Linked DNA regions of Homo sapiens: regions 1, 2, 3, 4, 5 and 6 are each linked to region 7. Evidence: promoter capture Hi-C in 16 types of primary human blood cells and fetal thymus (Javierre and others, 2016). All regions are on one chromosome and are shown on one strand. The core of a region is centred on a gene start or on the middle of the fragment in contact, and the rest is flanking DNA. Distances in the headings are between cores, read along the strand shown.

Evidence for each region. Contacts are between HindIII fragments. The CHiCAGO score rates a contact against its expected background, and 5 or more counts as called.
Region 1: a fragment that was not itself captured here is called in contact with the fragment with the promoter of MED30 in region 7 in 3 of 17 cell types (M2 macrophages, endothelial precursors and M0 macrophages); the score reaches 6.2 in M2 macrophages.
Region 2: a contact is called between a fragment that was not itself captured here and the fragment with the promoter of MED30 in region 7, in 1 of 17 cell types (fetal thymus). The highest score is 12.1, in fetal thymus.
Region 3: a fragment that was not itself captured here is called in contact with the fragment with the promoter of MED30 in region 7 in 1 of 17 cell types (monocytes); the score reaches 7.5 in monocytes.
Region 4: a contact is called between a fragment that was not itself captured here and the fragment with the promoter of MED30 in region 7, in 1 of 17 cell types (M2 macrophages). The highest score is 6.1, in M2 macrophages.
Region 5: a fragment that was not itself captured here is called in contact with the fragment with the promoter of MED30 in region 7 in 6 of 17 cell types (fetal thymus, M1 macrophages, M2 macrophages and 3 more); the score reaches 13.6 in fetal thymus.
Region 6: a fragment that was not itself captured here is called in contact with the fragment with the promoter of MED30 in region 7 in 2 of 17 cell types (fetal thymus and monocytes); the score reaches 8.7 in fetal thymus.

What each region holds. Positions count from the first base shown.
Region 1 is chr8:118,401,143-118,404,434 of GRCh38, forward strand. All of the region lies in intron 3 of SAMD12 (sterile alpha motif domain containing 12), which reads right to left. All of the region lies in intron 5 of LOC105375724 (a long non-coding RNA gene), which reads left to right. Among named protein-coding and RNA genes, the nearest start is that of SAMD12-AS1, 220 kb to the right of the region's middle. The HindIII fragment of the contact is 1,072 bases long and covers 856-1,927 here.
Region 2 is chr8:118,172,059-118,175,350 of GRCh38, forward strand. It overlaps a transcript of SAMD12 not described here. Among named protein-coding and RNA genes, the nearest start is that of EXT1, 62 kb to the left of the region's middle. The HindIII fragment of the contact is 8,861 bases long and covers 1-3,292 here.
Region 3 is chr8:118,287,777-118,291,178 of GRCh38, forward strand. LOC105375724 (a long non-coding RNA gene) reads left to right here. Exons shown (of 7, transcript XR_001746062.2): 3 at 463-549. It also overlaps a transcript of SAMD12 not described here. Among named protein-coding and RNA genes, the nearest start is that of EXT1, 180 kb to the left of the region's middle. The HindIII fragment of the contact is 1,745 bases long and covers 557-2,301 here.
Region 4 is chr8:118,496,684-118,500,508 of GRCh38, forward strand. All of the region lies in intron 2 of SAMD12 (sterile alpha motif domain containing 12), which reads right to left. Among named protein-coding and RNA genes, the nearest start is that of SAMD12-AS1, 120 kb to the right of the region's middle. The HindIII fragment of the contact is 5,867 bases long and covers 1-3,825 here.
Region 5 is chr8:118,418,736-118,422,538 of GRCh38, forward strand. All of the region lies in intron 3 of SAMD12 (sterile alpha motif domain containing 12), which reads right to left. LOC105375724 (a long non-coding RNA gene) reads left to right here. Exons shown (of 7, transcript XR_001746062.2): 6 at 813-927; 7 at 1,056-3,803. Among named protein-coding and RNA genes, the nearest start is that of SAMD12-AS1, 200 kb to the right of the region's middle. The HindIII fragment of the contact is 1,714 bases long and covers 1,233-2,946 here.
Region 6 is chr8:118,196,330-118,199,614 of GRCh38, forward strand. It overlaps a transcript of SAMD12 not described here. Among named protein-coding and RNA genes, the nearest start is that of EXT1, 86 kb to the left of the region's middle. The HindIII fragment of the contact is 2,879 bases long and covers 1-2,786 here.
Region 7 is chr8:117,518,471-117,522,293 of GRCh38, forward strand. It overlaps MED30 (mediator complex subunit 30), which reads left to right and starts at 2,243. Exons shown (of 4, transcript NM_080651.4): 1 at 2,243-2,583. The coding sequence starts at 2,407. It overlaps LOC105375716 (a long non-coding RNA gene), which reads right to left and starts at 2,250. Exons shown (of 7, transcript XR_928569.3): 1 at 2,084-2,250; 2 at 569-707. The HindIII fragment of the contact is 1,953 bases long and covers 1,885-3,823 here.

The DNA of each region.
Region 1 (3,292 bases), core at 142-2,641, 880 kb after region 7:
CATCCCAATACAAAGCATCCAGATCATTTCTGTATCTTGCTTCTAATGAAAAGAAAATGTGTTTGCAGAAAATATTCCTAGAGTTCTCCCTTATTCATAGAGTACTTTGAAAACTGAACATGGCTGAAAGTGTGAATTTATAACATTTCAGATTTTCTTTGATTGTAAAGCAATAGTCTTACTGGTTCCTTTTCGCCTCAGGTCCTACATATTTCTGCATTGGATTATGACAGATCTGGGCTTTATTTATTTTAGAGACAGGGTTTGGCTCTGTCACTCAGACTGTAGTGCAATCATAGCTCATTGTAGCCTTGAACTCCTAGGCTCAAGTGATCCTCCTGCCTGTGCCTCACAAGTGACTGGAACTATAGGTGTGTGCCACAGACTCCCTTCTTCTTCTTTTTTTTTTTTTTTGTATAAACAGGGTCTCACTATGTTTCCCTGGCTGGTCTCGAACTTTGGCCTCATGCGATCCTCTCACCTCTGCCTCCCAAAATGCTGGGATTACAGGTACGAGCCACTGTGTCCAGCCAAGGGCTTCATGTAAAAGATCAAAAAATTTAAAAACTCATGAGGAGTTTTTAGATATGTGAGAACTCACTTTTAAAGTGAGTTAAGTCATGGGATGCATTGCTGGGATTGAACACACATACACAACCTTTGAAGATACTGGAGATTGCTCAAATATCTACTAAATGTGCTTCTGTATTTAACCTTGAGATTTTATTTTCAGAATGTCTTCTCATAACTTACACATGTATCCACACGATTTTCAATCTAATTTTTAAGATGAAAGTGAGCTTACTTGAGGGTGATTTACATTTCCTTTATTTCTTCCTTATAAATTATATGTTAAGCTTAATATTCTGATTTACAGAGCTCAGTTTCCTTGTCTTTCCATAAGAAAAAGGCATGTTTCCAAGGTTTTATTCTAAACAATCCACTGCATTTAATTATGAAAACCTATTGAACTTAGGGAAGTTAGAGGAGAAGAAAAAAAATCACACACCACAAAAGGAAATAATTTGGTATTACAAAATCATTGAAATTAGAGATAGAAAAGGCTTATTAGATCATATATCAAAGAAAGTGCATGCATTTGACACTCAGATTTAATATGCCAGAGATGTTGGGTCACCGGAGGTACTTCTGAGGTTTTGATAAAGTACAGAAACTAAAAAAGAACATTTAAGGAGCAGAGCCCTTAATAAAAGGCAAGATCGAAGTATGAGAGAGAAATACGTAAGATGCAAAGAAAAGGCAGATGGAGAAATAACACTGAAACATCATGGAGAAAACACTTTTTCCATGTTTTCTGCATAGAAATGTAAACAGTGACAAAATGTCCAAGGACTGAGGCTTATAAGGGGACTGCTCTAGCCAGAAAAGCCCCTTATGGGGTCAAAGACTGAAGGCTGTTATTGTGTGGATAACACCCCAACCTTTTATCTATGGAATGTCATTTAACCCTTAGAGATTCCTGGCCTTGTTTTCCTTCTAGTTAAGAGCAATGGGCAGCCATAAATATTCTCCTGTGTGTGTTGGGAGAAAGCAAGGGAGGAGATATGGCAGAAGGAGCCCTGTCTGATAATGTAAAAGCATGAAAGAACAGACGCTGGCATTCACTAAGACAATCAGAGCAGAATTACCCCAAAATATTAAGCATCTTCAGATTCTACTATATGACCTCTGATAACACAAATCCTTGGTAAGCCATCATCTTATTGATCTTTTATTGTTTTTCTTCATGCACACACACAAAAAATCTGATGCTAAAAACTAGTTGCTGCATGTTGCCCAAAATAGAGAAGCCAGCCAGAATACATAGTGAAGTTGGGTAAAAACTTGCTGATAAGCAATATCTAAAACTTACCCAAATCCCTGTCAAGAGTCTACCCACACAGCCTGCACTGTGAATTGGGTACTAAGCTTCTCTCGTGATTTATCACATATCTTCACACAAATAAGGCATCACAAATATCTGTCTGTGAAGGGAATGCTGCATCTTCATGACAGCCTTGCAGTTCAGTTTCTTCAAATTCAAGAGTATTTCCTAATTTCAACCAGGTCACTGTTGCAACTGGGCTAATGAAAACAAAGAGAAAGGAACAAAAATATGTCCTAACTTGCACAAATTGGACTAATTCTCAGTGAAAAGGGGGAATAAAGTCTGATATACTTTTATAAATATTATGTACAGTCTGTGTGTGTGTGGTGTATTTTTTTTTTAATAAGAGGCAGTATGGCAGAGTGGGTAAGAGTAGGATTAGGGAATAAGAATCCCTGGATTTAAATTCTAGCTGTTTCACTTATTAGCTTGGTAAATTGGAACATTATCTTAAGCTCCTTTATCCTTAGTTTCTAAAATAAAAAAAATTATAGTAGTATTTCTTTAACAAGGTAGTCATGAAAATGAGGATTAAATTCGATGATCCATATACACTTAGTACTTGCCACACAGGAAGGCCCTAGTAAGAGCTGCATTAAACTAAAAACAAAAACAAAACAAAACCCTAGTTTCTTAAAATAGATTGTGAATATCTGGAGAACATGACCTTACAGGGTCAACTTTAAAGAATGAGATTTGTCAGGTCTATCATGACATAATACAATGAAGTGCACCAGAGAAATAAATCAGAGGGAGAGGAAGCTCTGGAGAGGTAGTGAAACAACATTGTCATCCTTGTACAAAAAAGAGCGATTAACTTGAATCTAGATGGCCATAGCATTCTTGATGACAAAGGTATTTCCATATCTTTGCAATAGAGACAATATACTGCCTTTGGTTTCCAGCAATATAAGTCTCAGTGTCATGTGTTTTGCTTGATAGATTTTTGGTACCTTTATTTTTTCTTGAGACAGGGTTTTGCTTTGTCCCCAGGCTGGAGTGCAGTGGTGCGATTGATTCTGGCTCACTGCAGCCTCGACCTGCGGGGCACAAGCAGTCCTTCCATCTCAACCTCCCAAGTAGCTGGGACTATGGGCATGTGCCACAATGCCCAGCTAAGTTTTAAAACTTTTTGTAGAGATGCAGTCTCACTACATTGCCTAAGCTGGTCTAGAACTCCTGGGCTCAAGTGATTATCTCACCTTAGCCTCCCAAAGTGCTAGGATTACATGCATGAGCTACCATGCCTAGCTGATTTTTGTTATTTACCTTGCTTGGTATTCTCTGAGTTTCTTGGATTTGTGCTTTGATATCTGCAATAATTTTGCAAAATTCTTGGCCTCCTGAAGAAAGTTCAAATACTTTTTCGGTCTCATTCTTTCTTTTTTCCATCTGGAATTCCAA
Region 2 (3,292 bases), core at 558-3,057, 650 kb after region 7:
AATACTTGGACACAGGGTGGGGAACATCACACACCGGGGCCTGTCGTGGGGTAGGGGGAGTGGGGAGGGATAGCATTAGGAGATATACCTAATGTAAATGACGAGTTAATGGGTGAAGCACACCAACATGGCACATGTATACATATGTAACAAACCTGCACATTGTGCACATGTACCCTAGAACTTAAAGTAAAATTAAAAATAAAATAAACTAAAATGAGGGAATTGTATGTATTGTTTAATTTCAATATGGTTGTTTTTTAAAAAAGAAAGAAAAAGAAACCTGAAACAGGTCTTGAATGTTAGACTTTATAGTCAGTTTCCTCAGTAAAGGTTTTTAACATATAGAATATATATTTGATCATTGCTTTGGTCCTGCTTAACACTATATTTTACAGCAGTCAAAGTCTGCATGCCTGTTTGAGCAAATTGGAGACCATTGGAAATTTGGATGGGAATGTAATTAGCTGAGTTGAACCTTGGCCAAAAGGCATTGTTTTCTAACTGGAAGGTACTATTGGGTTTTTAAAACAGTTTTATTGAGGTGTAATTGATATATATAAAAATCTGCACATATTTAATGTATACAACTTGATGAGCTTGAACATGCACATATATCCATGAAACCGTTACCACAGAGTAATAAATATATCCATCACCTCCAAAAGTTTGCTTCTGCCTCTCTTTCCTTTTTTTTGTGATAAGAGCACCTGAGAGCTCCTTTTTGACAATTTTTCTGTATACAATATAGTTTTGTTAACTATAGGCACTGCTGTACAACAGACCTCTCTTATTCATCTTGCAGAATTGAAACTTTATACCATTTGAACAACAACTCCCCATTTATCCCTCCTTCCAGCCCCTGGTAACCAGAATTCTACTCTCTGCTTCTAGGAATTTGATGGTATTTGTCCTCGTGCTGGTGGAATCATGCGATATTTGTCCTTTGATGACTGGCTTATTTCACTTACCATAATGTGCCAGTTCCTAGGAATAGGGTTTTCTGTCCCTTGCATAAGATAGGAATCATACTTTTCAACAAGCTCCCCTTTCCTGTTGGACAAGTGGTACAGTATTGACACATGGTTTAGAATGCAACCTCCTGAGTGAACAACACTATTCCTTGCCATGCCTGAAATTTCTTTTTATTTCTTTGCCTTCCATCCAAGTATTGATCGAGGCAGGGTTCTGTGTAGCTTACAACGTGTTAGGTGTTGTCAGACTATCATGTTAGGCCTGCCGCTGTAATGGGCTGACTGTCTTTATGGAGGTGGAGAGCAGAAGGGCAAGCTGGTGGATTAAGGAACAGAGGCACTTGCCTTAAGGGACCCAGAGGCTTAGCTTAAAATTGGTGCCCCTGGAACCTCCATCTTATTGACAAAGCAAGTAGCTGTCATTGTACATTACAAGGCCCTGTCTTTTAGACAAGCAGCCTCTGTTTTCTTTTATGCGATGGGCTATTTTTGGATGTGTTCTTGACCATTATCTAATATTTATATATATATATAATCTATATATTTAACTATAGATTATATATTTATATTTATTATATTAAATTATATACATATCCATAACTTTTTTTTTTTTTTGAGATGGAGTCTTGCTCTGTTGCTCAGGCTGGAATACAGTGGTACAATCTCAGCTCACTGCCACCTCTGCCTCCTGGGTTCAAGTGATTCTCATGCCTCAGCTTCCCGCATAGCTGGGACTATAGGCACGTGCCACCACACCTGGCTAATTTTTGTATTTTTAGTAGAGACGGGGTTTCACCATGTTGGCCAGGCTAGTCTTGAACTCCTGACCTCGGGTGATCTGCCTGCCTTGGCCTCCCAAAGTGCTGGGATTGCAGGCATGAGCCAACACATCCAGCCTATATATATATATATTCATAACTTATCTGGCAATTAAAAATACTGCCTGTTAGTAATTTTAAATAATATTTTAGATGGACTGATGTGTAGTAAAAAGAAAAAATTGTTCTGAGTCAGTACAGTTCAAATCTTGGTCCTGCCAGTTAAAAGTACTGGACCTTGGGGAAATCATGCAAGCTGCTTCTGGGTTTTGGCCCCCTCCTCTGTTAATAGGCTAATAATTTTACCTATCCTGTGGGATTGATCTGAGGATTCAATGGGGCAATGTTTGCCAAAGTGCTTTTGTAAAGTTAAAAGGGCTGTCATAGTCATTTGTTGCATGTGGACCTGTTTAATGTCCCCAGTGAGACTGAAGGCTCCCTGTTTTTGCAGATCCTCAGGATGTGTGAGGACACTCAGTTCAGATTTGTTGATTTTTGGGGTTGTTTTGAGGGCCTTTTGGTTGTTGGGAGACAAGAGGTGTTCAAGGCACCTTTTTCTGACTCACTTCTAAGGAGACTGGGACATGGCATGGGTCAAGTGTATCTGCGTGGGCCATTCATTCATTCACCTATTTAATAACTATTAACTGAGTGTTGTTTGGGTCTAGGTGCTTGGGAAAAAGTGGTTCATTTTACTATACTGGCAAATGCTCCACTTCCAGGAGCTGACATTCCAGTGGAGGAAGACGATCCAAATAATCAATGAAATAAAGAAATACAAAATTTCAGAGAATTTTAGTTCCACTGCACAAAATAAAGCAAGATAAAAAGGTAAAAAGTGGGGGTGAAGAAATTATTTTTTCCCCATTTTATATGGATAAATTTCAAATCTACAGAAAAAAATAATATGCAATGAATATGCATTTTCTCATCACCCAAATCCATCAGTATTAACATAATGCCACACTTGCTTTCTTTTTCCCCTCTATGTGTGCATGTCTTTATGTACTTCTTTGTGTACATGTGTGGGTTTTTGTTGTTGTACCATTTAGAATAAGTTATAAATATCATGGAATTTTATCTCTAAATAGTTCAGCAAATATTTCCAAAGAACAGGATCTTTACCTGTGTAACCACAATGCCATATGACTTTCAAAAAATTTAGCAGTAAAGCAAAAAAAAACAAAAAAAAAAAAACAAAAAAAACAAACAAAAACCGGGAGGCATCATATTACCTGACTTCAAACTATACTACAAGGCTAACCAGCTGGGTGCTGGTACAAAAACAGACACATAGACCCATGGAACAGATTAGAGAACTCAGAAATAAAGCTGCACACCTACAACCATCTGATCTTCAACAAAGCCAACAATAACAAGCAATAGGGAAAGGACTCCCTATTTAATAAATGGTGCTGGCATAAGTATAACTGGATAGCCATATGCAGAAGATTGACACTGGACCCCTAGTTTTACCATATATGAAAATCAACTCAAGAT
Region 3 (3,402 bases), core at 179-2,678, 770 kb after region 7:
AGGGAGATATTGGCAAAGTGTGGACCATCATGAATTTATGAGTGCATAGGCTCTTGAGAGCCTGCTGGTTCATGGAAAAGCCCCTAATAAATATGTGGCCTAAACAGTCATACTTTCTACCCATGCTTAACCTGATGGCTGCCCCTAAGGATAGGAAAATGACATGGAAAGCTTCTGCTTTTCTGGATTGTTTAATTTAAATCCCGTGTTCTGATACAAACTTGCCATTGGAAAAAAGAACCTTGGTACAAGGTGTCATGGACTGACTGTCCTGAAGACCAAGCGTGGGCCTATGAGCAGTAAATTTTTATATCATAAAAATTACAATGGTGGTGAAAAGAAGTGACGATAATACTAGCTATTAACTATGATGATGGACTCCATGCTAAAGATTTTGTAGATATTATCTTTAATTCTCAAAACAATACTGCAATATACTTATTTATTATCCCCATTTTACAGGTGCCAAGACTGAGGCTCAGAGAAATGAAATAACATGCCAAAGGTCACAGTGTCTAGTGGAGCTGGGGCCAAATTCAGGTTCGCGTGGTAATAAAGCTTTTTTTATGCCATCACCCTGCATAACTGTCTGTTATGATCTTTGAAAAGTCAGATTTTTTCAAAATCACAAAAATTCTAATTTTGATTGCCTTACACACTCTTCCTCATCATTGTATTTTTCTATTGGAATTAAAGTTTGCAACCTTTGGAGACTAGAAATCTAAGGCAGCAATTTCAGATGTTTTGAAGACCCTCATAAACTACAATTAGTCCACAATAACTAGCAAGAAACAAACACTTCTAAAAAAAGCATCTAGTCATTTAAAATGATTTTTAATTTCATGACTAGTATATAATTATACAAGAACAGAGCTATTTAGTTAGAAAAAATAACTTTGAAGATGAGAGTCCATTTAGTATTTATTTGCTCCAAGGTTCTAATTACTTCAAAAACTACTGAAACTTCATATACGATTACTAACAGCATTCAATAGCAGCTTTGATGGAAGTTGAACCAATCTTTTAAAAATTTTTTAGCCTCATTAACATGAGAGAAATAAAAAATAATAAATACCAGGGGCACATATATATGATGTCATTATTACTTTCCCACTTTGTTGCCAGTTCAGGTCTCCCATGCTAGAAAAATGAAAAATAAAACCTAACATGTCTTCCTGGTCATTTTGGAATTGAGGCCAACAAAATAAGACCAGTGAAGAACAATAAACACAGTATTGTTTTTCTGTAATATATTAGCAAATCCTGGTAGCTTCAATTTTGTTTCATTACATTTCCAATATGTGCATCCATCAATTCATCTTCTTTTCTTCCCATAGTTAAGATTTATGCACTTTATTAATCACCTCAAGACAGTCATCTCAGCAGTTTCATTTGGTGGAGTAAACCAGTCAAACCCCATCAGACTTCTGGGGATGTCACACAGCAAACTTTGGATTCCTGGCAACTTGAATCACCCTTGCCAATATGAGATTTTTCAGAGCAATCCATCTTAGGGCCAACTAATATATCACATCTGCCTCTGCTCTTTTCCTAATTAATAGGTTCAAAGAGAGACACCTGCTAGATCACACAAATGTCCCCCTGAAGCAGCCTCAGCATATAGGTTCCTTGGCAGCAGCAGATCAAAATGGCAGGCAGTTAAATGTTCTATTTTCCAAATGCAAGTTGAATGATATGAAGGGTCTAGGTGGCATTCAGCAAACCCACATTCTCCAAAGGGCTTTTAAAAACAAAGGTAACACATTCTTCACATTCACTGCATGCTCAGGTGGTTTAAAAATATGATGTTGCCATGTGTGATGGACCAATCATTTGTGCTGGCTTCTAGCTTACAGCAGTGCTAACCAGAATCAGGGCTGCTGACACTCTACTTAAGTTGTTGCCACCTGTTCTAATTCTTGGTAACTGTATTTTTTGTTATCATTTTTTTGATGCCAACTGCATTCTCCCTAAAGTTCTGAAAGGACATAGTTCTAAAGTTAGTGTGCTCTTAATTAATTTAAAAATATGCTTTATTAAGTCCCCAACTGTGCATTTGAGTTACCTGCCAGCTTCTTTTGAGATACAGAGAGTAAAGACTTGGGTTCCAAATGTAACTAGATCAGAAAGATCTAACTACATTTCCAAATCAGAAAGAAGCAAATTTACAAAATTATTCATTCAAGAGAGATATCTTCTGAGCCTTTTTAGGTCTTGTCTGTTTCTATGATCAAACAGAAGGGTTTGGGTGTGCACTTTTCACACTAAAAGACTCAAATAAGGAAGATTCAATGACTTGTAAGCTTGCAAAGGATCAGCTAAGTAAAAATTATAACCTTATATAACAGCACTGCACATAAGACCAAAAATAAAAAATGCCCTATTTGATATTAAGAAAATGTAATGAAAAATCCAGAGAGGAAAATGGGTTACCACAGTGCTATTTCTATGGTCTTTCAAATGCAGTCACACTTCCAAAATCTTGCAATTAATGGCATTAAAAACTCTCCAGCCTCACAAGTTTATTAAGTAGCAGTGTAGTTAAACAAAAAGGGTGCTAGACTAGACATTGAGAGATCTATACTCTAGCCTTGACTGTGCCTTAAACTGTAGTGTGTTGGTCTTGAACCATGGAACCCACCATACAGTAAGTGGGCTGGAATAAACAATGGCTACCCACTGGTTGCCCTCAAAGGTAGCAGTGGGTCTCCTCGCACTATTTTTCCTTCTTAGAAAAAGCCAAGAAATCATATTAACCCATAATATGATTCACAAATTAGTCAAAACATCACATTTATTTGCTTTTTGCTTAAATTACATTAACTGAAAGAGTTAACACTAGTTATTTCATGCTAATCCATTGCTCCCATTCAGGGATCATGTTTCTACTTAGTGATAAATCAAGTTAATTACTACTTAAGTTCAAATTGTAAAGGGGATCTTGCAAAAAGTAAAACTCATAGGGAAACTAAGTTCTGAGTGGGAACTTGGTGGTGACCAGTTAGGAAAGGGTTTTACTAAAATCCCTTCCAGTTCAGGATTTCTATGACTGCAAATATATAAATATGAAAAATAATTAGTCTTTTTCCAGTGTCTTTTGAATTTCAGTGTAGAACTGTTTTATTTACTAAATGCATGCCTTTACAACTCTTACAGAGAGAACATATACTTGCAGAGAGAGCATTCTAGCCAAACTCACCATTTCCTTGGCTGGCCTGCTCCTCGCTTCACTGGCCTAATTATTCTCATAAGCAGCTTAACTGAAATGTTGGCTTACAAATTTATATTTCAATTTAATTGTGCCCAGTTCCTAGTACAATGAAAATGTTAAAAGTCTTTTCCTATTTTGACAGTGTTTCACTGTGTTTATTTTTAGGGACACTAACAAATAAACTTCATGTT
Region 4 (3,825 bases), core at 319-2,818, 980 kb after region 7:
CCAAAAGCAATTGCAACAAAAACAAAAACAGACAAGTGGGACCTAATTAAAGATCTTCTGCACAGCAGAAGAAACAATCAACAGAGCAAACAGAAAACCTACAGAATGGGAGAAAATGCTGCAAACTACGCATCTGACAGAAGTGTCATATCCAGAGTTTATAAGGAACTTAAGCAAATTTACAAGCCAAAAAAAAACCCAAATGACCCCATTAAAAAAATGGGCAGAGGACATGAACACACACTTCTCAAAAGAAGATATACATAGCCAACAAGCATATGAAAAAATGTTCAACACCACTAATCATTAAAGAAATGTAAATCAAAACAATGAGATACCAACTCACACTAGTCAGAATGGCTATTACTAAAAAGTCAAAAAATAACAGATGTTGGCGACATTGCAGAGAAAAGGGAACACTTACACACTGCTGGTGGGAATGTAAATTAGTTCAGCCACTGTAGAAAGCAATCTGGAGATTTCTGAAAGAACTTATAAACAGAACTACCATTGGACCCAGCAATCCCATTGTTGGGTGTGTATCCAAAAGAATATAAATCATTCTACCAAAAATACACATGCACCTATATGTGCATCACAGCACTATTCACAATAGCAAAGACAAGGAATCAACCTAGATGCCAATCAACGGTGGACTGGATAAAGAAAATGTGGTACATACACATCATAGAATACTATGCAGCCATAAAAAATGAAATAATGTTCTTTGCAGTAACATGAATGCAGCTTCAGGTCATTAACCTAAGCGAATTAATGCAGGAATAGAAAACCAAATGCCTCATGTTCTCACTTATAAGTGGGAGCTAAACGTTGAGTACACATGGATACAAAGATTGGAATAATAGACACCAGGGCCGACTTGACAGGGGAGTGTGGGAGGAGGGGGAGGTTACCTATAGGGCACTATGCTCACTACCTGGGTAACAAAGTCATTTGTACACCAAACCCCAGCGACACAAAATTTACCAATGTAACATACCTGCACATGTACCCCTGGAATCTAAAATAACTTAAGTTGCGGGGGGGGGTGGGGGGAAAGAAAAAAAAAAAAGAACAGCATTTGAGAACATTTATTTACTTTTTTTAAAAAAGATGCCATTTTGAGGATGAATACACTTGATCAGGGATTTAGAAGTTTTCAGACATGTAAAAATGGCTAAACTGAATGTAACAAATCTAGTAAGAAATGCTAATGAAATCTGAGATGTCAGAGGAGACATCAATTAAACTTAAAAACCAAAATGAAATTTTCAAAGGCAGAAACAGATGGAGAATATGAAAGAAAGGAAGAAAGTCAGGAAGTGGAAAGAATGAAACAACACAGGACTAATTAAACAGAAGAACAGGAAGCAGATAATTAACGAACTGAAACAAGGCAAGGCATGTGTTATATCAGGATATGCTATGTAGACATAGACATCATTCTTAGGCCCAGCTGGCTTCTGATTCCAGCTGAGACAAATTTACCTTCACTTTTAAAGACGGTGTTTTGCAACCCATTTAATCTTTTCAATGACCGCCAAGTCACAGGAACAGTCTCAGCTTAAGGGTCCTGTTTATACAACGAGATGCTGTTCCCTTGAAGACAGGTCCATTATTATGGTATAAAAAATATAGAGAAGAATGAGATTGTGTTTGCAATGAAATATAAAATAAGAAAGTTAATATACACGAATATATTTTATTTAAGATCTGCTTGTTGGCATGTTATGCCTGTAGCATTTACTACCTCGCAACACTGCTAGAGGTATGTGGATAGCTCCAGGCATATCACCAAATCAGAATGCGAAATCACTGCTCTGAATTTCTAATAATGTCACGACTGCACCCCTTTCTTCTTCCTCTAAAATCTATGACGCTAGCTGTTTAATAATAATGCAGATATACTTTACCCAAACTAAATTCCTGGAAAAGGTCAGTGTTCACACCTAGAATTTTCATGGCTTATGGTGTATAGCACAGAAAATATGAAAATTAATAGAAATGATTACAAAAAATGATATTGCCAAGATATATCTTGATGGAAAGAATACACAGAGTTCACATTAAAATAAAAGTATATGTTTACTCATTCACCCAACAAATACCTACATGGCACCTATTAGGTGTGACATATATCATAGAAATGGTAGATAGACCTAGAGGACAGTCAAAACACAGAACCTTTCCTCAGACAGTATAGTGTCTTGTGCTATGAAGTATTTTCCATATATGCTTTATCTCCCCACCAAGTTCACTTTACACCCCCTGCACTCTCCAGTGAATACATGCTGGCTTATCTAGATGGAAATTTGATGGAGGCTATTATCTGTCAGAATAGGCTAGGTTCTGCTGCAGTAATGAACAACCCCCACATCTGTACGACTTAACACAAGTTTACTTCCTGCTGACACTACATGTCCAGTATAGAGGCTCAATTTATCATAGTCACTTGAGGACTTAGACTGCCAGAGGCTCATCCTAACATGGGCTTCCATAATGAACACAAATAGAGAAAGGGGGTACTTGGTCTCAAATTGGTAATTGACTGCTCCAGCCTGAGTGTGACACACATCATATCTCATTTGCCAGAACCACCCAACCAGACTGAACAGAAAGTTCAGTCTTCTACAGGCACAGAGGGAGAGAAGGAGCAAATATTGTTACCTAGAGCTAATGATTACAACAGTGACTTACTGTAAAGAATAAGAGGAAGTGAAAAAATTGTGGCAAGGACAATTAACCTGACCTATTTCCAGCTCCAAGACTTATTAGCCACATGTCCACAACGTCATGTAACCTCCTCAAGCCAAAGTTACATGGTAATAATACCTCTCCTGCCTATCTCAGAGAGTGGATCTGCAGCTTCAGTGAAGCAGATATTATTCAATACTGTTTTACATTTCTAGAACATATGTAGGCTTTCAGAATAGTTTCATATGTCTATGTGTTCAAGGAGAACACAGTCAGCCAGGGCTAGAGAAAAAATGTGGAAAACTGGAGGCTGCTAAAAAGTCAGTGTGGATAAAGCACAAATAATTTATAAATCTTGGCCATAGACTCCAAGATTACCAAGTTGAAGGCCAAGAGCTTCAAGGATCTCTTCCCTTGAGTAATGAAAAAAATTAAAGATGCTCACTTCCCCAACTTCTTAGTCCTCAAGAGAATCAACAGAGTTGTCAGGGGTAGCCAACATCTACAGAAGACTGTCCTTAATATGGCTTCATGGTCCTCTATGCCGGCACAACAAAGTGCCCTTTTATGCCATCTTTAACCACATGCCTCTTCTCTTCCCACATCAGAGTAGACAGTGATCTGTACGGTCCCCCCACATACATGAAGATGTTGATCTGCTCCCCAGGATACACGCCCCTGAGTTTTGCCTTTTTTTTTTTTTTTTTTTTTTTTTGAGACAGCAGAGTTTCACTCTTGTTGCCCAGGCTGGAGGGCAATGGCGCGATCTTGGCTCACTGCAACCTCTGCCTCCCGGGTTCAAGTGATTCTCCTGCCTCAGCCTCCCGAGTAGCTGGGATTACAGGCATGCGCCACTACACCCAGCTCATTTTGTATTTTTAGTAGAGACGGGGTTTCTCCATGTTGGTCAGGCTTGCCTCAAACTCCTGACCTAAGGTAATCCACCCGCCTTGGCCTCCCAAAGTGCTGGGATTATAGGCGTGAGCCACTGCGCCCGGCATGCACTTGTTCTTGAATCTCCTCTTCCATCTTTTCTTTCCACATCAGTTGTTCTCAAATGTGATTAGAACCATGCCTAGGACATAGAGACATGGGTTCCTTTCTGTGAAGCCATTCTTGATTCTTTTAATC
Region 5 (3,803 bases), core at 840-3,339, 900 kb after region 7:
GTCAGCCAGTTTCTTAAATAAAAAGCAGAAGAAAGGACAAGGATAGTTTTTCCAACCAGGAAATGTTTTTGCCACTATAGCATCCAATACATGATCAAAGAAAAACATCAGTAAAACATATGTTTTTCCATTGTTTCTAGTCCATCTGTCCCTGACATTTTGCTAATTATCTCAAAAAAGGATTACTGTATAATTTTCCTTTCTCTTCTATTTCTAATTAAAGGTAACAATTTCTCTTGGTGATTAATATCTTCCACATTAATAAGGAATGACTATGCCTGACATAATTTACATCATTCTAGATTCCTGGTTCTCCTAGGACAATCTCATTCTTGGTGTCAAAAGTCTTCCCCTCTAGTTTGCATGTTAACAGCATAGAAGGCTCTATTCTAGTCAACTGTGAATGTGCTGAGTATTTAATTGACAAAGCAAAAATGATGGAAGGAATTGTCCTTGAACTGGAAGCAGAAAAAAAAAAGCCTTAGGTGTCAGAGGAGCTGAGTACTGCCATCTGCTGGCTATGGGGTCTGGGTCAATTTTTCTTTTTTTTGTCGTTTTTTAATATCTCTGAGCTTCTAGATTCCTCATTTGAAAAGAGTTTCACACTAATATTCTATCAACAGGGGTCTGAGGTTTGAAAATGTGTGTGAAATATCACTTTATAAAGTTCAAGTATGATACAAATATCAGTGGGAAATTTCTTGTGGATAACAAAACCTGTAAGATTCTGGGGACTTCCTCAGAATAGTTAACTGAGTATGTTCAGGAAATTGTTTAGAGACACTAAGTGGCTTCCCTTTTATATTCTACAGTGGTACCGTTTTTCAGCCCCAGCCATCACTTCATCCTTTGCTCTGTAGCTTTCTTCATTTGTTGGGAGAGAGGCTATTCTTTTACTTGAACTTAGTGGGAGCTCATTTTGCAAAGGTAAGTATATCTTGTCCCCATTTTTCTATGTGCTGAACTGATCATCACTGTGAATGTATTACTAAGTGGAAGTTTTAAGGTTAAGATCCTTATGGAATAACTACAGCAGTCCTATCTTCCCCCACTAGATACATGCTTCACCATCCCCTGAAAGATTTATATAGAAGGACACTGTGGCAACATGTGACCTTTTGAAACTGCTCCCTTGGAAGGAATTCTAATGTCCTCCTGTCTATGTTACCTGCTGTGTACCTACCACTGGGGAAAGATGCTGAAAATTTAATGAATTGCAGAAAAGCTGTGCAAGCTTCTCTTTTGGAAGAACCTTGGAGAAGAGAGAGGCTGACAGAAAGAAAACTTTCAAAGAAATTACACTGCCCTCAAGGGTGGCATCTACAGAGGACAGTGACAGGGCCTTGGAGACGTATGATTTCTTCTGCTGCTCATTTACCTAGGTCTGTTTTCACTCTGGTGACTGGCCACAATCATGGGAAAAGTGAAGAAATCTGATAACTATCAAGGTACAAATTGCTAGAGAAAGAAAATCGGGACTCTTACAACTAAGGGCTAATTGATGTGGAGATGGAAGGTTTGTGGTGCTATGTTTTGCATGTGCCTCTGTGTGTGTTTGTGTGTGTATATATAGGAGGGTAGGAGGTAGAAGAATTCACAGTACAACCTAATAATCTGGGCCATGGACCCAGCCAAAGAAGCGGGGACAGGGGTTGAATGGAGAAGCACATGGGACCAGATGTACAATGTATCTGGAAAACAGACACATATACCGCATCCAGGGAATAACTGCAAACAGTCAAATAACATATTTTGTATTCAACCACTGACACAGAAATTCATGCACAATGTATTTTATTTTTTAGTGGAAGAGAGAGAACTATGCCACCCCTTTAAGGTATGATGCCATTCTTAGAAATAAATATTCGTATAGAGAAAACTATCTGAAAGGATAGATGTCAAAATGTTTACATAAGAGATTATTTCCGGATGTAAGAATTAGAGGGGAATTTTATATTTTTTATTTTTTGTGTATGTACAGTTTCTAATTTTCCTACATTTAGTATGTAAAAAGGAAAAAAAAGTAGCACATTTTTAGAAAAGAATTCTAAATTTCTTTTATAAATATCACTAAGGAAACAGATTTGATTTGGGCAAAGGGAAGAAGAGATTAGAATAGGGGTTGGCAAACTACGACCCTCTGAGCTAAATCTGGCCTGCCACCTGTTTTTGTAAATAAAGTTTCATTGGAATACAACCACTTCTTTCATTTATATACTACAAACATGGAGTTTAGCAGTTGTGACAAAGACCCTACGACCTACAAAGCCAAATGGCTCTCCTATCTGGTCCTTTACAAAAAAAGTTTGCCTAAACCCAGTTTAGAAGAATCCTCCTAATATGGTCTTACCTATTTTACCTTACTAGTTGTGTGAGCTTAGGGAAGTCATAACTTTCACACCTCAGGTTCCTCATGTGTAATGAGATGGATAACACATCTTAGACATTTTATGAAAATTAAATGATTTAATACATAAATGGTGCTAAACACTGTGTTTGGCATATAGTAGATGCTCAATAAATATTATGCTCCTACTTATTTTCTACTTCCTTTAAATAAAATGCATTATTCTGATTTCATGGCAAATCTAATGAAACTGCCATTTTTGCTAGTCAAAATTGTTCAATATTGGCAATTTTATATGGCTCAATGTAATCATACTTTAGCCATTTACTATTCTCATTGCTCTTGTTTAAGTTGTAATTGCTGAGCTTGTATCTATCAATGTCACCAAGGTAGTTTTAGGGTTAGCTAAATTGCCACAAACGGCTGGAAACCAAAATCTATTAATAGCATTGTTCTATCCAAATGTGGACACTTTGGGTGTATGAAACAAAACACTGTATTTGTATTTCACTTTGTTACTTGTGTAACACAGGGAAATCTGCATTCAATGCACCTATGGTGTGACAGATTAGGGCCTCTTTCCTGCTGCCCTAAATAGAAGCTTTTTAGATAAAGGATATTTGCTTCCACCCTACAAAACAGCACCTGACTTAAATTTCAGCAGACTCAGTGAGCTTTCACAGCACTGCGACAATCACTCTTGGCACTGAGCAAAGTTCTGACACAGTCTACCACAACATCCTGGGAAGAACTGCTGAAGGGAACATGGGGCTCAGGATGCTACAAAATTTGGAGACTGTCATTCAATCGCACTTGAAGATGATATTCTGGGGCTTAGTGCAGATCCAAAATAGGAGTTCTTTAAAAAAGTAAAATGGGGTTTCTCCAAGAACAAGACAGGAAGACCGACTGGAACATCAATGGAATGTAAGTGTAAGAAGTTGCAGATAGGGAAGTATAGGATGAGCTTCATGAAAAGGAGGCAAAATCAGGAAACTGAAAGACTAATCAAAGTATTCTTATCAACAGAAATGAAGAAAGGCTTTTAGTTCAGTGCTAAGACTATCAAAGGAAGAACAAACCCAATTTAATCCAATCAACACTTATTAAATGCCTACTTTATGCCAGGCACTGGGTTAACACAGCTAGAGATAGTAAGATAAATCAGACACAATTTCTACCTTAGAGAAGTTTCTGGGCTGGTGGGAGGGAGATAAACATGGAACCAAATAACTTTAATATCGTGATAAATGTTATAATACTAACAATAATAGCTGTCATTTATTAATTGTGTAAAATGTAAAGCAAACACAGAATGGAAAAATTAGTTTTGCTTGGAGAGGTCCAGAGAGGGTAGGGAGGAGGGGAATAATTACAGTCAGCACCTGAAAATGACCAAAAGTTCACGAAGCTAATACTGAGGCAAGAATGAGAGTGATGTGCTGTGGTTTCAGGA
Region 6 (3,285 bases), core at 97-2,596, 680 kb after region 7:
ACACAGAACATACTTTGCTGAGCTTTCCATTCAACCAACTTGATATTTTCAGGAAAAAACATGCTACAGTGTTATGTAGCAAGTCAATATGAACATGTCTCTAATGCTCAAAGACAAGCAATAATTAAGTTGACTGGTTTCCCAGGACTGTGCTTTGTCGTAAGACATAGTTAAAAAAAAAAAAATTAGTCACAGGTATAATCCCAGAAAGGATTAACAAGGGACTAGTAGGTTCTACCCTAAGTAAGGAACCTAGTATAGGACTTGACCCTTTTCCTTCTCTAGGCACATAGTGGGGTCACTTGATGTTTCTCTCTTGATGTTTCTCTCTTGAGAGAATGGCGATTTCAACTTGACTTAGAATTTTTTCCGAAGTGTTAACGTCAGACCACACAAAAGAATTGCATTCTGTTGCCCTTACCATCCATCCACCATGGTCTTTGATTAAAAGAATACCATCCCCTTTTTTCCCTTGGAGGAACTCCTCCCTTGGAGGAGCCAAATAGAAGCCTCCTGTATTTGAGTACCTGTATGTTCATGTGGTCAATAGTGCCTGTGAACAAAGAAGCAAGCTAAGATATCACCATCACTGGACCCCCTTCTTCTTCCCTTTGGTGCTAGAAGTAAACCAGTTGTTCAATAAAGTATCTGGAGGTGAAGTCTAACAGTATTGTGGCCATATTTACATCAACCTACCACAAACAACTGGGGATATGCGAGTAGTGGAGTTTGTCTTGGACAGTCTGAGCCGGAAAAAAAAAAACCACTAAGATTTATAAAAATAAAAAGAAAATACTTGATTTCTCACATGTGCTGAATGTGCTGATTCATCTTGGTGTAGTGTTCTCATATAAAGTGCTTAAGAGTTGGACAGTATACCTTTAGACATCATAACTAACATAATCGAGACGTGTTTACATTCCTACCAGGGCATAATATTGTGAACACTTCCACTGAGATTGCAGAATTGCTGTAATTTTTTTTTTCTAAAACATCATGCCATCTGCACACATAATAAAATAATCCAGTAGTTGCCATGCTAAAACAGGACTTCTAGTGAAGGGCACAGACAGCTCCCCAAAGGGAACTTGAGTTATGCACAGTGATGAAAACTGGAAGCAATTTTCCAGCTAATGGTCTGCCAATGACCACTTGGAATGAGTTGGCATTATATTATGCACCTCATTTTAAATCCACAGCAAAGCAAGATTTTTCCAAAACCCATAATATTGACTGAATGGGTGCTTTTTTCAGTTAATCCAGTTAATCTGTCCACGATCCAAGGATATCTTCTGGCAGTGCCATGGGTTAGTCTTTCTGTGAGGAACAGGCCATGTTCATATCAACTGGCAGGACAGCAGCTTGGAAGGCTAACCGTGTTTATGGAGAACCCTCAGATGATGCTGCAAGAAGAAAAAGGGGGAAATATGGTAAGTTCTTTCCTTTATGTTTCCAGGCACTGATATGTAGCAATTATCTTATTCAAACAAACCCTAACACCCTTAGGCCAAAGAGAAAGCTCTAGTCAGAATAATGGTTACTCAATGCCAGGATGGATTTACAGTGGCTTATATTCATGAAATTTTTTTTTCTACCATTTGGCAAGGCATGGAAGACACCCAACTGAGAAATAGGTGAAGCTGCCTGGAAGGGAGGGCAAAACCAGATCTCTGGAATTGGCATCCAGCCCTATGGCGGGGCTGCAGTTTGGGAAACCATTTCATGTATTATGAAGGTTCATGCATTTGCTTGGTCTGGTGCAAGGTAAGATTGGGGATGGTGTGAAGCATTTTATTGTGGGAGAGAGATGGGGGTTTCATTTATCAGAAAGATTTCTTGGGATGCAATCTAGAAAAAAAATATTGGAAGCGGAATGGCTGGAGCTCTTGAGTTTGCTAGTTGCGAAGTCAGATTAGCTGGGAAGGTTAGAGACTAGATAGAGAAAGTCATTAAAATCGGACCAGAGATTAAACTAATTGAATTGCAACCCTGCTTTTGGGCTTGGGAGTGCTAGTATAAAAATATTAATGTATTTTCCTGAGTGTTCTAATTTAAATTGTCTAAAGTTCCCGTTATTTTATTTGGGTACTCCCTACAGTTCCTTATACATGGGTCTTCAAGAATTATTATATGAGTACAATGGAATGTTTTGCTCAGAAAAATATCAGTATTAGTTTCTAATACACAAAACTATCAGACAATGGGAGAGAAGCACAGCAGGTATTCTTGATGCAAAAGAAAAAAAAATCTACCTCAGTTTTCAAACCTGGCTCTCAAATCTAACTAACTGGCTTTTCAAAACATGACAGAACGCACTATTTGTAAGCAAGTGTTTGATTAACATTTGCTATTTTTGAGAAAATGAAAAAATAAAAGGTACTATGTAAGTGTATTAAATATCAAATAATAATACTTCTGATAGGTTGTATTGAAAGCAGAATACTATTATTGTTGATGGCATTGTCAACTGGAAAAATAATGTCAATTTATTCAAAAATTATTGAAAATGCATATGCCTAAATGTAGTAATTCCATTCCTAGGAGTATATCCTAAGGAAATAATCTAAAAAAAAGAAAGAAGCTATATGCACAAATAGGTAAACTAGAGGTTATTTATCATAGAGGAAAAATTGGAAGCAACCACTCTCTTATTGTTGAAGATTTAGGTTAAGTAAATTATGGTACATTAACAAGATGGATAATTACATGGCCATTAAAATAATACTAATTATGATGATTATGATTATGTAGCAACATGGAAACAGTTATGATATACTACAATATAAAGCTTATATATATGCATAGAAAAGAACTGTATGTGAAAATGAAGGCCCTAGAATTTTTATTACTGTCATCATAGTATTTTGCAAAACAACAACAAAAATTAGGCTCACAGGGTTGCAGGATTGCCCCATGACTAACTAAAGCATCATGATTGTTTTCACTCACTAATACTACCTTGAAAATAAATACTTTGTAATTTCATTAAGAGAAACACTTCAGTATTTTGAAAGGGGTATAAACACCAATGTGCGTAAGATCCTATCCAGGTTGACCTGCTAGGAGGGCAGTACAGCCTGAAAGAACAACATTGATTTCTAGGAACTTGACACAGTGTACCATCCTTGAGACCTGGCTAAAATCAGATCCAGAAAATGTGTGACCTTGGAAAATAATGAATAACCTATAAAATACAATTTTAAAAAAGAATAATGATAATAAAGAGTAAGCCCTAATTAATTATTATACTTTGGAACCTGAGTCATGAGTTGATAACTAGGTTTA
Region 7 (3,823 bases), core at 993-3,492:
TGGTCATGAGCCAAGCAATTGCGGCAGCCTTCTAAAATCTGGAAAAGACAAGGAAACAGATTCCTTCTGAGAGCCCCCAGAAGGGAACACAGCCCGCCAACACCTTGAGCGTAGTTCAGCGAGAACAATTTCAGACTTCTGAGCTAAAAAGCTATAAAATAATAAAAGGTGTGCTGTTTTAAGCCACAAAGTTTGTGGTAATTTGTTACATGTGCAATAGGAAATTAACATAAGGCATAATTTCTCGGAAACTTATTTTTTCTTCAGTGTATCCTGTCTTGGTAAATGACATAAACTTCACCTGAAGTTTCACATGAAAGCAGAAATACGTGCCATCCTTAATTCTTTCCTCTCCTTAATGTTCCTGATCCAGTTACTATCAAGTTCTCTAGATTCTACTTACTAAATATTTATTCAAAGTTACCCTCTGTCTCCTTTCTCTGCACAGGTCATGATCATCATCATCATTCCCCTTTGGGAGAGAAGACAATAGAAACCCACCATCTGTTCCCCATTTAGCAACCAGAATAAGTGTTCTAAAATGAATATTTCAAATTATTCCTCTCACCTTGAAACTCTTCAATGGCTTGCTATTTCACTCCATAAATTCTCAACTGCTTGACATGGGTTAGAAGATCCTCCAGGGTTGCCTCTGTCTTCAGCCTTATTTCCTAACACTCGTCCTCACACTGAACTTCTTCCAGATCCTAGAAAGCATTAGGAGGCCTCTTCACTTCAGGTGTTGGCACTGGCCTTCCTCGTCCTCATAGAAAAGACTCTATCATTCGTTACTCCCTTCCCTATCCACCTTCAGGTTCCACACTGCTCCCTTCAGGTCGTTCTCAATCTCCTAAATTGTTAGCACCCTGATATCAGGAACTTTTGCTTCAAGACGCTCATCACAATAGTGTTCTGTTTGTCCCCATGACAAACATGCTGCAGGGCTTTTGCCTGGTTTGTTCAGTACGCTATCTTCACTCCTAGCACCCAGCACATAATAGGTGCTCAGCCAATATTTGTCGAATGGTAATTACCGAAGACCTGCGAATTACTATGTTTAAAATCTCTACCAGGGTTCCTATGACATATTTAGTAACTATTTCCTGGAAAGTCCGTACAATGGAGCATTCAGATACTTCTAAAAAATGCAATGTTTGTGCCTATCACTAATTTTACATTCTTCACTTTTCCCCACTTTGGAGATGAACAGTAAGTGAGAGACATTGTGAGAGACATTTTAATTTCTCTTGCATTTATCATGTCACTCAACAATCATTCAATAAGTATTTATTGATACTTGTGCCAATCACTAGGTGTTGAGAATAAGTGAATAAAATAGTCTGTTTTCATGGAGTTGGCAGTGTGTGTAGATAGGGTGAGATAAAGTCTGAAAGTAAACAAACTGAAAGCTATATAAAATATCAGACAGTAGGCCGGGCGCGGTGGCTTATGCCTGTAATCCCAGCACTTTGGGAGGCCGAGGCGGGCGGATCACGAGGTCAGGAGATCGAGACCATCCCGGCTAACACGGTGAAACCCCGTCTCTACTAAAAATACAAAAAATTTGTCGGGCGTGGTGGCGGGCGCCTGTAGTCCCAGCTACTCGGGAGGCCGAGGCTGGAGAATGGTGTGAACCCGGGAGGCGGAGCTTGCAGTGAGCCGAGGTCGCGCCACTGCACTCCAGCCTGGGTGACAGAGCGAGACTCCATCTCAAAAAGAAAAAGAAAAAAAAATCAGACACTAATAAGAGCCAGAGTCAGAAAGAAGTGTGTGTGTTGATCATTTTTTTTGCTTACAGATACTGGGAAAACTCAAAGAATAAAACATCTGAGCAGGGACCAAGAGCAATCGGGGAGTCCGTATCATGTCACAGAGAAGCGTACAAGCTTAGGAATCTTGTTTTCTGAATTCGAATCGCAGGTTGCCAGTTACACCTGTATGCGACTCAACAAGTACTTTAACCTGTCTCTTAGCTGTTATACTACAAACCTCAGGCTTGTTAAGAGAAAATGCTCCGCAAGGAACTAAACACAGAAGGTTCTAACGCTGAGCCAAGACTGGGAAACGAACTCTGGGAACTCACCCCAGGCTCCCCAAGAACATCGCCCCTCTGGCTGGAGCGCAATTGGTGATTGGCTACTTAACCCGTCCGTCCTTTCCCGCCCAGGGGTCCAATCCAATCCAGCCCGGCTCCGCTCGGAGACAGTTCGCCGAGTGGGCGGTGTCTATGACGTTTTCTGACGTGTTACGTCACAGTGGGCGGAAGTCGCGGCCGCTGTTTTGAAATCGGGCCGCGGGGGGTCTCTCAAGCTGGTTCCAACGCTGAGGCCCCACAGCCTCCCAATTCCGGGCAGACCCCTGACACCTGCTGTCTGGCCCCTTCCGGCCTGAAGCTGCAGCCGCGCCATGTCCACCCCTCCGTTGGCCGCGTCGGGGATGGCGCCCGGGCCCTTCGCCGGGCCCCAGGCTCAGCAGGCCGCCCGGGAAGTCAACACGGCGTCGCTGTGCCGCATCGGGCAGGAGACAGTGCAGGACATCGTGTACCGCACCATGGAGATCTTCCAGCTCCTGAGGAACATGCAGGTAGGAAGGCGGGCGCGCGAGGCCAGGGGGATGCAGCTGGGAGGGAAAGGGCCTCTGGTTTCCTCTTTACGTGGGGCCCGTGGATGTCATCGGGGCTGCCCTGGGCAAACCTTAGGTGTAGGGTCTCCCCCATTCACACTCAAGAGTGTCCCCAAAAGTCGGATTTGTAGAGGTGATGTTTTCCAGACCAGATTTCTGCAGAATTGAAGCCAATTTTTTTTAGATTCAATCGAGCTCTTTAGTTACTCTGTAAACTCTTGCACCTTTCAAGGCAGAGATGGGTCGCACTCCACTTCCCTCTTTAGGTTGCTTTAAATGTTTTTTCCAGCATTTCTTCTGGGGAGGTCCAAGGAGTTGAAGAATTTACATTTTTTTTAAAAAAACAGTCCTCCTTTTTTTGGCATAGTTAATATACAGTAAACTACACTCACCTAAAGTTTTGATATATATGTGTACTGTAGTCTGTATACTTGTGAAATTATCACCACAATCAAAATAGTGTACACATCATCCCAGAAAGTTTCTTCATACCCCTCTGACATCTTTGCTTCCCACCTTCCATCGCTAAGCAACCATTGATCTGCGTTCTGTAATCATAAATTAATTTGCATTTGCTAGGGTTTTATATAAACGGAGTCTACAGTATGTGGGCTTTTTTTTTTGTCTGAGATCCTTCACTAAGAATGCATCAATAATTTCCTTTTTATTGCTGAGTAATGTTCCATTGTATCCATGTATCACCATTTGCCTACCTTTTCTTCTGTTGATGGACATTTGGGTTGTTTCCACTTTTTGGCTGTTGTAAATAATGCTGCTATGAACTTTTGCTGACAAATTTTTGTGTGAACGTATGTGTCATTTCTCTTGGACAGATTCAGGAGTGGAATTGCTGGATCATGCAGTACATGTCTGTTTAATACTTTAAGAAACTTTTCCAAAGTGGCCTGAGCCATTTTACGTCCCGATTATTGCTAGTGGGAATGTAAACATTGCTGTTTGAGGGTTCTAGTTTCTCCTCATCCTCATCAACACCTGTTATGTCTTGATGCTTTCCAAATACTTCTCCCAGTCTATCCTGCCTTTTTATTCTCTTAATACTGTCTTTTGAAGAACAGACATTTTAAATTTTGATGGAATCCAGCTTACTGATTTGTTCTTTTATAGATTTTGGTTTTGCTGTCATACCTAAGAAATCTTTGCCTAACCCAAGGTGACAAAGGGTTTCTGTTTTCTTCTAGAA